Linked DNA regions of Homo sapiens: region 2 is linked to region 1. Evidence: promoter capture Hi-C in human tissues and cell types (Jung and others, 2019). All regions are on one chromosome and are shown on one strand. Each heading gives the region's core, a stretch centred on a gene start or on the middle of the fragment in contact. The rest is flanking DNA. Distances are from core to core; before and after follow the strand shown.

Evidence for each region. Contacts are between HindIII fragments. The study calls those that stand out against the background at their distance.
Region 2: the fragment with the promoter of MAP2K2 here is called in contact with a fragment that was not itself captured in region 1 in 2 of the 25 tissues and cell types used here (dorsolateral prefrontal cortex and spleen).

Annotation. Positions count from the first base shown.
Region 1 is chr19:3,751,282-3,757,127 of GRCh38, reverse strand. It overlaps APBA3 (amyloid beta precursor protein binding family A member 3), which reads left to right. Exons shown (of 11, transcript NM_004886.4): 4 at 2,788-2,933; 5 at 3,023-3,109; 6 at 3,202-3,363; 7 at 4,138-4,308; 8 at 4,408-4,620; 9 at 5,575-5,694; 10 at 5,799-5,846. Among named protein-coding and RNA genes, the nearest start is that of APBA3, 7.5 kb to the left of the region's middle. The HindIII fragment of the contact is 3,385 bases long and covers 1,464-4,848 here.
Region 2 is chr19:4,121,481-4,127,326 of GRCh38, reverse strand. MAP2K2 (mitogen-activated protein kinase kinase 2) reads left to right here and starts at 3,205. Exons shown (of 11, transcript NM_030662.4): 1 at 3,205-3,543. The coding sequence starts at 3,452. RefSeq lists silencers at 3,053-3,172, 3,363-3,612. The HindIII fragment of the contact is 9,633 bases long and covers 586-5,846 here.

The DNA of each region.
Region 1 (5,846 bases), core at 1,907-4,406:
AAAGAAAAAAAAAAACAGTTCTGTGGTTGCAGAGAGAAAAACTGGTTTGAACCTATAGCTCTAAGAAGGTTCTAGAATCGAGCAGAGCTGTGACACCTAGGGAGTTCCAGGGCTTGGCATTTTGTCTGTTTCTAGGGTAAAGGAATCTGGGCTGATGAGAATGCTCAGAATTGGTGAACAGAGGCATCTGGTTCTACTCAGACTGGAGAATTCTAGAACCATGGAGGGAATAGTTATCTAGTGTTCTATAACCCTGGGCAGAGCTGTCCAATTATAGTGTAATCAGAAAGTTCTAGATGGAACTACAATAGAAATACAACGTGAGCCATATGTGATTTAAAATTTTGTAGTTATCCACGTTAAAAAATTAAAAACAGGTGAAATAACTTTTTTTTTTTTTAAACTGAGACGGAGTCTCGCTCTGTCGCCCAGGCTGCAGTGCAGTGGCACGATCTCAGCTCACCGCAACCTCCGCCTCCCAGCTTCAAGCGATTCTCTCGCCTCAGCCTCCTGAGTAACTGGAACTATAGGCATACGCCACCATACCTGGCTAAGAAATTAACTTTAATAACATTTTAATTAAGCTAACATATTTAAAATATTATTTCAACATACAATCAATATTTTTAATTTACTTTTTTATTTTTTTGAGACACAGTCTCACCTTGTTGCCCAGGCTGGAGTGCAATGGCGCAATCTTGGCTCACTGCAACCTCTGCCTCCTGGGTTCAAGTGATTCTCCTTCCTTAGCCTCCCGAGTAGCTGGGATTACAGGCGCCTGCCACCATGCCCAGCTAATTTTGGTATTTTTAGTAGAGACGGGGTTTCACCATGTTGGCCAGGCTGGTCTCAAACTCCTGACCTCAGGTGATCCGCCCGCCTCTGCCTCCCAAAGTGCTGGGATTACAGGCGTGAACCACCATGCCTGACCTTAAATTACTTTTTTTCATACCAAATCTTCAATATCTAGTGTGTATTTTCTATTTACATCTCTATTCAGTCGAGCCACATTTCAAGTCTGTGATAGATACATGTGCCTGGTGGCTACCACAGTGAATGACGTATCTCTCTAGAACCCCAGAGTGGAGCTCTTGTTCCAGAATGCTTAGATCCTGAAGGATAGTGGGCAGAACCGACTGTGGTGTAGGGTGAATTTCACTTAGTGGTGTCCAGAACGGGGCCCTACACCCGTGGTTCTAAACCAAAGAGCCGTAGTTACTGGTTAGAATGTTCTAGGGCCACTGGCAGAGCTGTCTGGCTCTGGGTAGCTCAGGGAATTCTAGAACCATGAGAGTAAAGCTTTTTTTTTTTTTTCCTTTTTGTTTTTGGAGATGGAATCTTGCTCTGTCACCCAGGCTGGTGTGCAGTGGTGCGATCTCTCTCGGCTCACTGCAACCTCCACCTCCTGGGTTCAAGTGATTCTCCCGCCTCAGCTTTCAAGTAGCTGGGATTATAGGCACGCGCCACCACGCCCAGCTAATTTTGTATTTTTAGTAGAGACGGGGTTTCGCCATGTTGGCCAGGCAGGTCTCGAACTCCTGACCTCAGGTGATCCACCCCCCCCCCCCGGCCTCCTAAAGTGCTGGGGTTACAGACGTGAGCCACCGCACCCAGCCAGGAGTAAAGCTTTATGTAGTTCTGGGCTGGGTTGGGAGTATTCTGGAACTGTCTAGAATTCTCCTGGAACAGAATTGTTTGTTCCTTGACTGGTCAGGTAATTCTTAGAATCCCTGGTGTAGCCAAAGGTGTGAACTACTGAAGGAGATTCTAGAACCACAGGAAGAGCTGCCTGACGCGATTGTGATTAAGATGTTCTGGAATCACGGAGCAGAGAAGTCTGATTCTAGAGTGATAATAAGATTCTAAAACTCCTGACAGAATTGCTATGAGACCTGTCAGAGAGTTCTGGAATCAAGGGTCAGAACCAGCTGGGGTTCTGGAGAGTATGGGAATTTTAGACAGGCAGCAGGGTCTGTCTCTGTTCTGAGTGGTTCTACAACCCGGGAACAGAGCTGCCTGCTATCCTGGGCTGACTGCAGACGGTTCTAGAACAGTGGGCAGAGCTGGCCAGTTCTAGATTGATGGAGGGAATTCCAGAACCAAGAAGCAGGGGTCCACTGTGGTTCTAGAATGTTGTGGAGGTTTCGAAATTGGAGTGGGGGGTGGAGCGTCGTGGCTCACGCCTGTCATCCCAGTACTTTAGGAGGCCAAGGCGGGTGGATCACTTGAGGTCGGGAGTTTGAGACCAGCCTGGCCAACGTGGCGAAACCCCGTCTCTACTAAAAATACAAAAACTAGCCAGGCGTGGTGGTGGGCGCCTGTAATCCCAGCTACTCATGAGACTGAGGCAGGAGAATCGTTTGAACCCAGGAAGCGGAGGTTGCAGTGAGCTGAGATCACACCACCGAGCTCCAGCCTGGGCGACAGAGCGAGACCGTGTCTCAAAAAAGCAGGAGTGGGACTGTCTGGTTCCGGCCTGATCATGGAATTCTGGGGACACGGGGTGAAGGTATCTGTGGGTGCTAGATCTGGCTTTGAATCCAGCCATGGCCTGGACTCACTGGTTTCCCACCTGCGAGTCCTTGAGGGATGGACAGAAGGTTCTAGACCTGTGAGGGCCAGGCTGCTTGGATGGTTCTAGAACAGTGGGCTGTGCTTCCTGGCTGGAGAGTGCTAAGCCACCAGCTAGAACACTGTGTCTCCCGGCCATCTCGGAGAGCGTAGCCCTGGGGCAGAGCCTGTGGGAGTGGGCCCCTGGGGGCCGACCCTCTTCGCTGTCGCCCTCAGTGCCTGGTCCCTGTGACCATGAAGACCTCCTGGACGGTGTCATATTTGGGGCCAGGTACCTGGGGTCCACCCAGCTGGTGTCGGAACGGAACCCGCCCACCAGCACGCGCATGGCCCAGGCCCGGGAGGCCATGGACCGCGTCAAGGTGAGGGGGCGGCCGGGGCCGGGCGGGCAGGCGGGTGGGCTGCAGGCTGGGTCTGTGGGGGCCTCCACCTCCCACGCCGCCACCCACAGGCCCCCGATGGGGAGACCCAGCCCATGACGGAGGTGGACCTGTTCGTCTCCACCAAGAGGATCAAGGTCTTGACAGCGGACTCCCAGGTACGGGGCAGGGACCCGCCCCAGGGATGCGGGTGGGGTGATCGAGCCTGGCACGGCCCCCCAACCCACCCAGGCTGCCTCTCCCGCCCCAGGAGGCCATGATGGACCACGCCCTGCATACCATCTCCTACACAGCCGACATCGGCTGCGTGCTGGTGCTGATGGCGCGGCGGCGGCTGGCACGGAGGCCGGCACCCCAGGACCACGGCCGCCGCCTCTACAAGATGCTCTGCCACGTATTCTACGCGGAGGACGTGAGCAGCCAGGGCGCGGGGCCACCCTCCTGAGGCCCTCCTCACTGCAACTGTCGCCTCCCTCAGTGGGCCGTGCATTTAACCTCCCTCCCATAAGCTTATTTTTAAATTCTTTTTTTGGGACAAGGTCTCCTTCTGTCACCCAGGCTGGAGTGCAGTGGCGCAATCATAGTTCACTGCAGCCTCAACCTTCCAGGCTCAAGCGATCCTCCCACTTCAGCCTCTCTAGTAGCTGGGACCACCGGGGTATCACCATGCCTGGCTAATTTTTGTATTTTTTATAGAGACACGGTCTCGCTCTGTTGCCCAGGTGAACACGGTCTCAAACTCCTGGGCTCAAGCGATCCACCCACCTCAGCCTCCCAAAGTGCTGCAATTACAGGCGTGAGCCACCGCGTCCAGCCTCCTATAAGACTCCAAGACTCTCGGCCGACTCCCCGAAACCTTGCCCGCTCCTGGGCTGTCCCTGCCACCCATGAGGCCCCAGGCCCCCTGGCTGGGTCTTTGATAGCTTTTCCCACAGCCCATGCGCAGGGAGCTGCCTCCCTCATCGTCCCCCCAGCCCAGGGCTGCCCCTCCCCTTCCTTCTCCCCGTAGATTCCCCAAGATGCGGCTGTCTCTCCACCTCCCCCAAAGCCCCAGGGCAGAAGGCTGTGTCCTGGGACTCTCACCCCAGGTGGGGACAGGAGGGCTCAGCTCTGAGGACCCTGGGGACTTTGGGGACCTGGAGGAGGTGGGTGGGACACCCCAGGGACGCGCCACTCCTCCCCGCAGGCCCAGCTCATCGCCCAGGCCATTGGCCAGGCCTTCGCCGCCGCCTACAGCCAGTTCCTACGGGAAAGCGGTATTGACCCCAGCCAGGTGGGCGTGCACCCGAGCCCAGGCGCCTGCCACCTCCATAATGGGGACCTGGACCACTTCTCCAACAGTGACAACTGCCGGGAGGTGAGTGAGGTGCTGGGCAGCCCCCACCTGGTGCCCCCCACACCCGTGCACCTGCACCGGGCCCTGCTGAGCAGCCTCCGCGCCCCCTGTGTGTCCCAGGTGCACCTCGAGAAGCGGCGAGGGGAGGGCCTGGGCGTGGCCCTGGTGGAGTCGGGCTGGGGCTCCCTGCTGCCCACAGCCGTCATCGCCAACCTGCTGCACGGGGGGCCTGCTGAGCGCTCGGGGGCCCTCAGCATCGGGGACCGCCTGACCGCCATCAACGGGACCAGCCTGGTGGGGCTGCCCCTGGCTGCGTGCCAGGCCGCTGTCCGCGTGAGTTTCCTGGTGTGGCAGGGCCCCCACACTCCCAGGAAGGGGAGCTGAGTCCCAGAGAGGTCTCCTCCCTGGCCAGGTCTCTCCAGCCCAGCCAGGAGGGACAAAGTCGAACTTTTAAGTCCTGCCCACTGGTGTGCCCTTGGGGAAACTGAGGCCTGGAGAAGGGAGGCCACTTGTCCAGGGCACCTCCCTAGTACCAGAGCCAGGATGGAAATGCGGGTGGCCCAGCTCCAGGGCTGGGCCACTCTCTCTCTCTAACAAGAAACAGCTAATTTCTGGGGGGGTTTGTTTGTTTGAGACAAGGTCTCACTCTTGCCCAGGCTGGAGTGCAGCGGTGCACCTGGCTCATTGCAGCCTTGACCTTCTGGGCTCAAGCAAATCTCCTTCCTCAGCCTCCCGAGTAGCTGGGACCACAGGTGTGCACCACCACGCCCAGTTTATTGTTTTATTTTTTGTAGAGATGGAGTCTCACTATGTTGGTTGGCCAGGCTGGTCTTGAGCTCCTGGCCTCAAGTGATCCACCTGCCTCGGCCTCCCACAGTGCTGGGATTACAGGTGTGAGCCACTGCACCTGGCCATGTTTTTGAGTCTCAACCTTTGTTGCTCAGATGGGGAAACTGAGGCCCAGAGATAGGGAGGGACCTGCCCCCGTCAGAGGAATGAGGCCACAGTCCGTGCAGCCTCTTACAGATGTTTGCAGCCTGCCTGGAGAGCCCGGCTGTCGGCTTGGCTTTTGGCCATAAGGAAGCGATATGGCTCGGGTCAGACAGCTTCGACCCCATGCCCACCGGGCCCGAGTCTGTTCTCTATCACATCTGAGGGGGTCTTCCAGAATTGAGCCCCTGGACTCCAGGTCTCTGGTTTATGAGAGGGTAAACTGAGGCCCAGAGGGGGCTACAACCTGCCAGGCTGTCCGGCAGCTGAGTGAGGCCAACGGCCCCCGCCCCACAGGAGACGAAGTCGCAGACGTCGGTGACACTCAGCATCGTCCACTGCCCTCCCGTCACCACCGCCATCATCCACCGGCCCCACGCCCGCGAGCAGCTGGGCTTCTGCGTGGAGGACGGCATCGTGAGGCCCCGGCCCCTGGCCCCGGGGTGGGGGGGTAGGGCGGCCCTGAGCACGGCCCCTGAGCAGCCCCCACCTCTTTCCCGTCCCCCTCTTTTCTCCCCCAGATCTGCAGCCTCCTCCGTGGTGGCATCGCCGAGCGTGGGGGCATCCGC
Region 2 (5,846 bases), core at 1,956-4,455, 370 kb before region 1:
ACTTGTGCATTAATAGGTGAGTGCAGTGGCTCACGGCTCTAGTCCCAGCACTGCTGAGGACGAGGCAGGAGGATCGCTTGAGCCTAGGAGTGTGAGACCAGCCTGAGTGACATGGAGAAACCCTGTCTGGACAAAAAATACAAAAATTAGCCGAGTGTGGTGGCGTATGTTTGTAGCCAGGGCTACTAGGGAGGCTGAGGTGGGAGAATCGCTTGAGCCAGGGAGGTGGAGGCTGCAGAGAGTTATGATCGTGCCACTGCACTCCAGCCTGAGGCCTGGGTGACAGAGTCAGAACTTGTCTTAAAAAGAAAAAAAAAGCCTAAAATAGGATAAAATGGGAGAAAGATTGCTAGGCAAAACAGAAGGAACATGGAAATAGCCCTGTCTCTGAAAGGGCCTGTCCTTATTTGAGGCCACATATGCATCCATCTGAATTTTGGACAAGCGGGTGGGAGCGATGAGAAGTAAAACTGAAAGGCCCAGATTGTAAAAACCCAGGAGCAGGCTTCCCCAGGAGCAGTGTTTTGTTTGTTGTTTTGTTTTGTTTTGTTTTTTTCGAGATGGAGTCTCGGTCGGTCGCCCAGGCTGGAGTGCAATGGCGTGATCTCGGCTCACTGCAACCTCCACCTCCCGGGTTTAAGCGATTCTCCTGCCTCAGCCTCCCGAGTAGCTGGGACTACAGGCACGCATCACCACACCCAGTTAATTTTTGTATTTTTAGTAGAGACGGGGTTTCACCATGTTGGCCAGGATAGTCTCAATCTCTTGACCTCATGATCCACCTGCCTTGGCTTCCCAAAGTGCTGGGATTACAGGCGTGAGCCACCGCGCCCGGCCAGTTGGTTGGTTTTGTTTTTTGAGCGTGAGTCTGGCTCTGTCGCCCAGGCTGGAATGCGATGGCACAATCTCGGCTCACTGCAACCTCCGCCTCCGGGGTTCAGTTATCCCACCTCAGCCTCCCTAGTAGCTGGAATTACAGCCACCCGCCACCACACCTGTGTAATTTTTGTATTTTTAGTAGAGACGAGGTTTCACCATGTTGGCCAGGTTGGTCTCGAACTCCTGACCTCAAGTGATCAGCCCACCTCAGCTTCCCAGGGTCCTGGGATTACAGGTGTGAGCCACGGCACCTGGCAAAAAATTAAATTTTTTTTTGTTCTGTTTTATTGGAGACGGAGTCTTACTTTGTCGCCCAGGCTGGAGGGCAGTGGTGCAATCTTGGCTCACTGCAACGTCTGCCCCCCGGGTTCAAGCGATTCTCCTGCCTCAGCCGCCTGAGTAGCTGAGACTATAGGCACACACCGCCAGGCCTGGCTAATTTTTGTATTTTATTTATTTATTTGTTTGTTTGTTTGTTTGTTTGATTTTTTTGAGACGAAGTCTCGCTCTTGTCTCCCAAGCTGGAGTGCAATGGCGTGATCTTGGCTCACTGCAACCTCTGCCTCCCGGGTTCAAGCAATTCTTCTGCCTCAACCTCGCGAGTAGCTGGGATTACAGGCACGCGCCACCATGCCCGGCTAATTTTTGTATTTTTTTGTTTTAGTAGAGACGGGGTTTCACCATGTTGGCCAGACTCGTCTTCAACTCCTGACCTCAGGTGATCCACCCGCCTCGACCTCCCAAAGTGCTGGGATTACAGGCGTGAGCCACCGCGCCCAGCCTATGACCTTTCTTATAAAGTGGTACGGCTATTGTATTAAATAGTAAGGTGGTGCTTCAAAAAGTTCAACATAGAATTACCATATAATCCAGTAATTCCTCTTCAGAACATATACCCAAAAGAACTCAAGGCAAGGACTCAAACAGATATTTGTACATCTGTGTTCATAGCGGCACGATTCACCGAAGTGTCTAGTGGCAGATAAATGGATAAGCAAAATATAGTCCATGCACACAATAGAATATTATTCAGCCTTAAAAAGGAGGAAAATCCTGACTGGGTGCGGTGGCTCACGCCTGTAATCCCAGCACTTTGGGAGATCGAGGCGGGTGGATCACGAGGTCAGGAGATGGAGACCATCCTGGCTAACACGGTGAAACCCCGTCTCTACTAAAAATACAAAAAAATTAGCCGGGCATGGTGGTGGGCACCTGTAGTCCCAGCTACTCGGGAGGCTGAGGCAGGAGAATGGCGTGAACCCGGGAGGCAGAGTTTGCAGTGGGCCGAGATCGCACCACTGCACTCCAGCCTGGGTGACAGAGCGAGACTCCGTCTCAAAAAAAAAAAAAGGGAAATTTTTCTTTTTTTTTTTTTTTCTGCTCTTTTTTGGAGCAGGGCTACCCGATTGGAAGTATGCCCGGAGTAGTCAAGTGGGTAAATTCTAACACAGGTTACAACGTGGATCTAACACAGCTACAACAGGCACCTTGAGGACGTGGCCCTCAGTGAAATATGCCAGCCACAAAGGGACAAAACCTGTGTGATCCTACTCATATGAAGTCCCTAGAATCATCAGATTCACAGGAAGTACGACGTTGGGTTCCAGGGGCTGGGGAGGGGGATAGGGAGTGAGGTTTCATAGGGGACAGTGTTTCAGTTTCGGAAGATGAGAAAATTCTGGAGATGGTGGTGGTGGTGGTTGCTTAATGCCGCTGAGCTGTGCATTTAGAAATGGTTAAAATGACAAGTTTTATGTTATGTGTATTTTATAATAAAAATGTTTCAACATGCGCATAGTAATATATGCAATTTTATTTGTCAATTAAAATAAATTTTAAAAATGTTTTAGAGTGGCCTTGTTCTGATGAAGGAGGGGGAGTAACTGACACTCTAAGGCGGTGGGGGCTAGGGGCGTGTGTCCACGCTTGCCAAAAAGATTAAATGGACTCTGGGTGGGTCTCGTCCACTGTTCTGGGGTCTTACGGGTTCTCTCAGCCCCAGCCTGGGGCACCACAGGCTCTCAGGAGTCTGGCTACCCTGCCCACCTGTGCACGACCATCACCCCAGCCTTCATCCCTCCGTCTCCTCCCCTGCTCCCGCGCCTCATGCCCCAAGCGCTTGGGCACACGCGCCGTGGTAAGGCAAGCGAGGGCGCCCGGTCCCGGCACCGCCTCGCGTCGGTCTCCGCCCCTTTCCCCTCCGAAAGGCGGCCTTGTGCTGCTGCGCAGGCGCGGCGGCTGGGGGTGGGGTCCATCGCGGCTCCCGATCCCGTTATCGCGAGAAGCCGGTCCGCGATCTTGTGGCCGCCCCTCCCCTCCCCCTGCCTCTCGGACTCGGGCTGCGGCGTCAGCCTTCTTCGGGCCTCGGCAGCGGTAGCGGCTCGCTCGCCTCAGCCCCAGCGCCCCTCGGCTACCCTCGGCCCAGGCCCGCAGCGCCGCCCGCCCTCGGCCGCCCCGACGCCGGCCTGGGCCGCGGCCGCAGCCCCGGGCTCGCGTAGGCGCCGACCGCTCCCGGCCCGCCCCCTATGGGCCCCGGCTAGAGGCGCCGCCGCCGCCGGCCCGCGGAGCCCCGATGCTGGCCCGGAGGAAGCCGGTGCTGCCGGCGCTCACCATCAACCCTACCATCGCCGAGGGCCCATCCCCTACCAGCGAGGGCGCCTCCGAGTGAGTGGGCAGGGGTCAGCCGGAGGCTTGGGGTGCACGGGGCAGGGAGCCCTCGGGGAAGGACGGGGCGAGGGGACGGGGGTTCGCGAGGAGTGCACGAGGCAGGGGGGTCACGGGGGAGGACGGGGTGAGTGGTGCACGGGGCAGGGGGTTCTCGAGGGGAGGACAGGGCAGGGGACCCTCGGGGGAGGACGGGGCAGGGGGCCCTCGGGGGAGGACGGGGCAGGGGGCCCTCGGAGGACGGGGCGAAGGGTGCACGGGGCAGGGGGGTCTTTGAGCAGTGAGATTGGGCGAGGGGAGGTCCTTGTGGTGGAAAAGATGGGGTGTGGGGTTCCTGAAGAGTGGAATTGGGATAACGGGAGTCTCTGAGTAGTGAAGTTGGGGTGAAGGATGTCTCTAAGAGGAGAGGATGGGGACAGGGGTCCCTGAGCAGCGAGGTTGAGTGAGGGGAGGTCCCTGCAGTGCAGAAGATGGGGTGTGGGGCTTCTGAAAAGTGAAGCTGGGGTGAGGGGAGTCCCTCAGTAGGAAAATCGGAATGAGGGGTGTCCCCAAGGAGAGAACAGGATGAGGCTCCCCAAGCAGTGAGATCGGGGTGAGGGGTATCTCTAAGAGGAGAGAACACAGTGTGGGGTCCTTGAGTAGTGAAATGAGGGTGAAGAGTTCCTAAGAGGAAAGGACGGAGTAAAGGTTGCCGTAGTCATGAGATGAGGGTGAGGGGAGACCCTGAGTAGGGAAATCGGGGTGCAGGGCATTCCTGAGAGGAGAGGATGGGGTGTGGGGAGGTCAGGCAGCCCCTGAGGAGGAAATCTGGGCAAGGGGGCTCCAGAGGGGAGAGGATGGGGTGAGGGGTCCCTGAGTAATGAGACTGAGATGGGGTAGGGTCCCTGGTAGGAAAAGACGGGGTAAGGGTCCCTCAATAATGAGATAGGGCCAAGGGAGGTCCCTGTGGGAAAAGACAGGGCATGGAGTCACTGAGTAGCAGAATGGTGGTAGGTCTCTGAGTAGTGAAATGGGGTGAACGGTCCCTGAATAGTGAAATCGGGGAGATGGTGGGGTCCCTGAGTAATGAGATTGGAGTGAGGGGAGATCCCTTTGGGGAAAAGATGGGGTTTGGAATCCCTAAGTCGTGAGATCAGGCCAAGGAGATGTCCTTGCAGAGAGAAGATGGGGTGCAGGGCCCCTGAATTGTGAGATGGGGTTGAGGGGGTCCCTGGGAGGAGAGGATGTGTCGGTGGGGGCCTGTGGGGGAAGGATAGGCAAGGGGTGTTCTGCATATTGAAATGATAGTGAAGCGAGTCCCTTGGGGGAGAGATGGGGTGAGGGGGTCCCTATGGGGGAAAGATGGGGTGGGAGGGTTCCTATGGGGGAGAGATGGGGTGAGGGGGTCCCTATGGGGGAGAGATGGGGTGGGAGGGTCCCTATGGGGGAGAGATGGGGTGAGGGGGTCCCTATGGGGGAGAGATGGGGTGAGGGGGTCCCTGTGGGGGAGAGATGGGGTGGGAGGGTCCCTATGGGGGAGAGATGGGGTGGGAGGGTCCCTATGGGGGAGAGATGGGGTGGGAGGGTCCCTATGGGGGAGAGATGGGGTGGGAGGGTTCCTATGGGGGAGAGATGGGGTGGGAGGGTGCCTGAGCCACAGGTTGAGAGTGCAGCACCTGGGTGGGGAGGACAGGCTGAGAGGTCTTGGGGGGGCGGGGAGCGGTCCTTTTGGGGAATGAGTCCCTGAGTAATGAGGTTGGCATGGGATGAAGAGGGCACCTAGGGTGCCAAGGTGGGGCAGGGGGGTCCCTTAGGGGAGAGGATGGGGTGAGGAGGTCCATAGACAACCAGGGAAAAGGGAAGAGAGGGGAGGACAGGGGGCTCCCAGAAGGGTCAGGATGTGGGAGAGGGGTGTCCTAGGGGGTCACGATGGGGTGGGAGACCCTAGAAAGGTCAGGATCGGGGGACTTTGGGGGGGTCAGGGTGGGAGTTCTGGGGTATCTGAGGACAAGGGGGTGTCTTAGGGGTGTCAGGACATGGGGGGGCTTTAGCGGGGTCAGGATGGGAGTTCTAGCGGGTTCCAGATGGAGGGGTTTCTGCTGGGGGAGGTCTAGTGGGATCAGGACAGGGGTTCCAGGGGGTTCATGTTGTGGGGGGGGTCAGGTTGGGTCCTCGGGGGTCATGTTGGGGGATTCTGGGGGGGTCAGGTTAGGGGGTCCTCGGGGGGTCATGTTGTGGGGGTTCTGGGAGGGCAGAGCAGGGGGTCCTAGGGGTCTCATGTTGGGGTTCTGAGGGGGTCAGGATGGGGTCCCAGGGAGGTCAAG